Linked DNA regions of Homo sapiens: region 1 is linked to region 2. The links are contacts of gene promoters, found by promoter capture Hi-C in blood cells and fetal thymus (Javierre and others, 2016). All regions are on one chromosome and are shown on one strand. The core of a region is centred on a gene start or on the middle of the fragment in contact, and the rest is flanking DNA. Distances in the headings are between cores, read along the strand shown.

Evidence for each region. The method cuts DNA at HindIII sites, captures the fragments that hold promoters and counts their contacts. A CHiCAGO score of 5 or more calls a contact.
Region 1: a fragment that was not itself captured here is called in contact with the fragment with the promoter of ADCY4 in region 2 in 1 of 17 cell types (naive CD4 T cells); the score reaches 5.2 in naive CD4 T cells.

Annotation. Positions count from the first base shown.
Region 1 is chr14:24,291,339-24,294,038 of GRCh38, reverse strand. DHRS1 (dehydrogenase/reductase 1) reads left to right here. Exons shown (of 9, transcript NM_001136050.3): 5 at 1,255-1,387; 6 at 1,709-1,855; 7 at 2,414-2,483. It also overlaps a transcript of NOP9 not described here. Among named protein-coding and RNA genes, the nearest start is that of DHRS1, 7.1 kb to the left of the region's middle. The HindIII fragment of the contact is 4,352 bases long and covers 1-2,700 here.
Region 2 is chr14:24,333,805-24,336,504 of GRCh38, reverse strand. It overlaps ADCY4 (adenylate cyclase 4), which reads left to right and starts at 1,434. Exons shown (of 25, transcript NM_001198568.2): 1 at 1,434-2,011. The coding sequence starts at 1,853. It overlaps RIPK3 (receptor interacting serine/threonine kinase 3), which reads left to right. Exons shown (of 10, transcript NM_006871.4): 10 at 110-480. The coding sequence ends at 330. RefSeq lists silencers at 1,728-1,807, 1,878-2,037, 2,698-2,700. The HindIII fragment of the contact is 4,552 bases long and covers 346-2,700 here.

The DNA.
Region 1 (2,700 bases), core at 98-2,597, 42 kb after region 2:
CCTAACTCAAATAACTGGTCGGTTGTCCCAAATGATCCAACTTTCCCCCACTGATTTGACAGGTTCCTTTCGTAATACATTGCGTTCTCACATACACTTGTATCTAATTATTCTCTGTTTTGTTTCATTGACTTATCAGTCTACTGTTAACACCTGTATTGCATTCTTTTAACTATTATGTCTTGTACATTTTAATTTATTTTATTTTATTTTTTAGAGACGGGGTCTTGCTGTGTTGGCCAGGCTGGTCTCAAACTCCTGACCTCAAGCAATTCTCCCATCTCAGCCTCCCAAAATGCTGGGATTACAGGCATAAGCCACCATGCCTGGCCCCTGTGCATTTTAATATGGGTGACAGCAGGGGTAGGGAAAGCAATCCCCCTCACCCACAAGACATTAGTCTTTTTAGTCCTTTTTTCGGAATTTTCCTGGCTGTTCTCTTTCTTTTTATTTATTTATTTATTTTTGAGACAATCTCACTCTGTCAGCCAGGCTAGAGTGCAGTGGCACAATCTCAGCTTACTGCAACCTCCGCCTCCTGGGCTCAAGAGATCCTCCTGCCTCAGGCTCCCGAGTAGCTGGGACTATAGGCACGTACCACCACACCTGGCTAATTTTTGTATTTTTAGTACAGATGGGCTTTCACCACGTTGGCCAGGCTGGTCTCAAACTCCTGAGCTCAAGTGATCTGCCCCCCTCGCCTCCCAAAGTGCTGGGATTGCAGGCGTGAGCCACCGTGCCCAGCTTTTCTGGCTGTTCTCACGTTTATTCTTCTCATTGAGCTTTAGATTATTTTATCAATTCCTCCAAAAGGTCTTATTGAGCTATAATCCAATTTGACTGAATCTATGGATTGATTTACATAGAAATGATGATTTACATGTCAGTTCTTAGCTTTGAAAGATTTTGTCTGTACTTATTGTCATGGTTTTATAGTTTTTCTATGTAGACACTATACATTTCTTAAGTTTTCTCCCCCTGAACAATTTTGTTTGTAATTGTTATTGTGACAGGGCTCTTGCGTTCCATTTCTTCTTCCAAAGATTGCTGTTTCTCATCTGTCAGTGGTTATTTTGACCAGTTTTCCTCTCAGAATATGGCCTCAAGCCCCTAATTCCTCAGGTCGCTAACCCACCCTGTGTAGCCTTCCTAGTGGACAACAACCACCAGAAGGCAGGGGAAGCCGCCAGAGGCTGTGGCACCCAGGCCAGCACTAACACGGTTCATTCCTTCTTCCCTTGCCCCACCTTCTAGAGGCCACTACTTTTGCTCAGTGTATGGGGCACGGCTGATGGTACCAGCTGGCCAGGGGCTCATCGTGGTCATCTCCTCCCCAGGAAGCCTGCAGTATATGTTCAATGTCCCCTATGGTGTGGGCAAAGCTGCGGTGAGGACCCAGTGGCATAGGAGCTGAGGAGGTAAAAGACAGTGATGTTACCTATAGCTCAGGAGGTACAATCCCCAGTGGTCAGAATGGTAAGGCTGGCTCCTCTCAGCTCCTCCTCTGCCTCATCCATGGACAGTTCCTTTGCTTGTGCTCCTCTTGGTTGGCTAGAGTAGGCATCACACTGGGGAGCGTGGGCAGCTGAGACCTTGGGGCTCCTGGGAAGGACAGGGTGGGTGGAGCATTCACAGTAGAAGCAGAGAGGGCAGGGCAGGAAAGTGACATGGCTAGGTGGCTCTTACCCTGCCTTCCGCCTCTCCACAGTGTGACAAGCTGGCTGCTGACTGTGCCCACGAGCTGCGGCGCCATGGGGTCAGCTGTGTGTCTCTGTGGCCGGGGATTGTGCAGACAGAACTGCTGAAGGAGCATATGGCAAAGGAGGAGGTCCTGCAGGATCCTGTGTTGAAGCAGGTTGGCAAGGGGAGGGCGAAGGAAGCAGAGAACAGGGGAGTCGGCCTCTGCATCCTCAATAACAAGATCAGATACTCCCACTCACCAGGTGCTTACTGTGGCAGGTGCAGGGCTGAGCATGGGACACACATTATTTCCTTTAATCCTGTAAGGGAGATACCAGCTCCATTCTACAGATGGCAAAACTGAAACCCAGAGAGGTTTAGAAACTTGTTGAAGGTCACATATGTCCTAAGTGGAAAGGCTGTCTAGCTCCAAAGACCATGCACTTGACCCCCACACCAGCTAGCTTAGAAGGTCCAAACACTATTTGGCACTACCAGATCCTTCCACTTAGCAAAGACAGCAGATCCTGGTGCCAGGGCACAGGGCTCACCTGGATGTGGGGAGGAGTGGCTCTGGCACCTGCCAATACTTTGGGTCCTACAGGCCCTGCTTGAGGTCTTTGGCCTCTTTGGTCTTTGGTCTTTTTCTCCTGGAACAGAAGTTGAAATGGGGAGGAGACCTGGGCAGTGCTCTTGGAAATTAACCCTTCACTTCTCTGCCCCTGTGTTTCAGTTCAAATCAGCCTTCTCATCTGCGGAAACCACAGAATTGAGTGGCAAATGTGTGGTGGCTTTGGCAACAGGTGAAGTTTGGGGGCAGCTGGTAATAAGAAAGGGCATGGAGGATGTGTAGTGCGGTAGCATCCAGTGCCCAGATCTGGCTCGGGAGTTGGTTGAGGAACATGTCATTCTTTTCTCTGCTTTTTGAGGCCCAAGGGGTCAGCATTCCCAGTTTGAGGTCTGAGAGCCTTAGGAGCAGGCTCCTGGGAAGTGTGGAAAAAGTCCAAGGCCCAAGAGAAA
Region 2 (2,700 bases), core at 185-2,684:
CACCTTGACACAGCCACTGACAAGTAGAGACTTCATACTCCCCACCCACCCCCAACTTGGCCTTTCTGACAGCTAAACCCTCCTGCCACCATCACTATTTCTCTTAAAGGGCGACCGCTCGTTAACATATACAACTGCTCTGGGGTGCAAGTTGGAGACAACAACTACTTGACTATGCAACAGACAACTGCCTTGCCCACATGGGGCTTGGCACCTTCGGGCAAGGGGAGGGGCTTGCAGCACCCCCCACCAGTAGGTTCGCAAGAAGGCCCTAAAGATCCTGAAGCCTGGAGCAGGCCACAGGGTTGGTATAATCATAGCGGGAAATAAAGCACCTTCCAAGCTTGCCTCCAAGAGTTACGAGTTAAGGAAGAGTGCCACCCCTTGAGGCCCCTGACTTCCTTCTAGGGCAGTCTGGCCTGCCCACAAACTGACTTTGTGACCTGTCCCCCAGGAGTCAATAAACATGATGGAATGCTAGTCAGTCTGAGCTCAGCCAGGGGCAGGGAGGGACTGGGATGGGGGTGGGAGCTGCCAGTGAGGGATAGGGAGGCACCACAGCTCTGCTATGGCAGGAAGTGGGGATGCTGGGGGCTGGGAGTGGGCAATGGCCTGGCACACAAGGTCAGGGCACAGCCGGCTACAACAGGAAGGAATCCTAGAGGCCTGGTTCCCCAGACCACTCTCTAATCTCAGGGCAGTGCTTCCTCTAAAGCCTAGGATGGCGACCCCACCCTAACCCTAAACTCTGGGGATAGAGGCTGTGGTCCCTTTTCTTCCGGGCTCTCAAGACTCACTTGCAGGGCTCTGGCGAGGGATGAGTTGATGTGAAAGATCACAGACCTGGCCCCGCACGGTGCCCCCAGGCTCTTAGAGATCATGACGCCACATACCTGCCTCCACCACACACTCAGGTTGCTTCCTGGACATTGCTTCCCTTTTGATTCCCAGTTGCTGTTCGGGAGTGGAAAGCTATGGCTCCTAAAGCTATACACAGGCGCAACCCCTCCCACGGAGCATGAACAGTTCAAACCCGGTGGTAGTGGTTGCCAGCCAAGCGGAGAGGTCAAGAGAATGAGCGCCCCCAACTCTGACCTAGATCCCCACCAGGACCCACATTCTTCCCTACATTCTCGCCAGGCTTCAGCCCCCCGCCCTCGGTCTCCCCACTACCAAACGTTCACCTCCATTTGGACACATCCCATTGGGTCCACCCCAGCCCACCCCTTCGCATCTCTCCCAGGGTCCACATTGCCCTTCCCTGAAGGGGCTGAAGCGGGGAGGCGATGGTGTTAGGAGAGACAAAACCAAGTGCGGGAGGAGACCAGGGGAGTCCGGCTTTGGCACAGGAAGGGGCCGGGCTGTCCCGTCGGGGAAGTGGGAGGGGGCCGCGGCGCCGGGAGGGAAGCGCCTGTCGCCCGGGACTCTGAGCCAGAGCGCAGCGGCGAGCGTGACTCCGCCATCAGGTCCCCGGCTCCCTCCCCGGACCTAGCCCACTCCGCTGCGCCAGCGCCGCGGGCAGTGAGTTCGGGGATCAGGGGAACCCGGGGCTCCCTCGCACCAACCCCAAATCCTGCCCTCCTGGCGATGAGGCTTTTCTAGGGCACCTCTACAATCCGGGTTTGAGGGAGGAGGAGGAAAGGACTGAGGGATCCCCTCATCGCCAGCTGGGAGCGGGCTGGGAGGCCGCAGGGAGGGCCTGAAAAAGGAGACGGGATTGCCACGAGGTTGGGGGCGCGGGGTGGTAGCGGCTTTGAGCGGGTGAGAAAAGCTCAGGTGGGGCCCGCCGGGCCGAAGGAGGTAACCCGGCGCCCGGCCCTAGCCAGCCCCGGGGCTCGGGGCTGGGGAGATCATGGCCCGCCTCTTCAGCCCCCGGCCGCCCCCCAGCGAAGACCTCTTCTACGAGACCTACTACAGCCTGAGCCAGCAGTACCCGCTGCTGCTGCTGCTGCTGGGGATCGTGCTCTGTGCGCTCGCGGCGCTGCTCGCAGTGGCCTGGGCCAGCGGCAGGGTGAGCCGAGCCTCTGCTGCGGGAGGGTCTCTACCTGGGGAGCATTTTCGGGGTTGGGGTTTGTGGGGTCTTCTTTTCGATGTGTTTTCGTTGCTGGGAGCAGAGAAAGAAAGGACCATTGAGCCTGGCTAGGAACTGCAGTGACCCTGGGCAAGTCACTCTACCCTTCTGGGTCTGCTCAGGGAGAAAGCTGAGTCCTGGATGCTTCTCGTTTCTGTCCGGGTTCTGACAGACTTTATGAACATCCGTGGTCTACGGGTTCTACAATAAATCCATCACCGGATTTTCCAGTTTTCCAAAGGGGAAATTCTAGGAGGCCCCTGGGGAATTCATTTCCTGCCTTTCTCTCCCTCTTAGGGGATGTAGAGCAGTTGTACCCACAGACTCCCAGAAGGCACCCTCCACCGGGCTCTCACTGAGTCCCAAAGTAAACCCATGTCCAGTTTCTGTTTGGGGAGGAAGAAGGTCTTCAATCCAATTCTAGAAATGGCCTGCCCCTGGTTTTCTTTTCACTGCTTGGAGGCAAGGTGGGAAAATCACCGGGCGCGGCCAATCCTTGCTGGTCCACGCCTAAATCCGGGAAGAGGTGGGGACAAAATGCTGGGACGGCTGTGCAGCTTCTGCTTGGAGTTGAGGCAGGTGGCGAGATCGCAGCCCTGGTGGCCAGGGAGGTGCGGGACGCCGCGGGT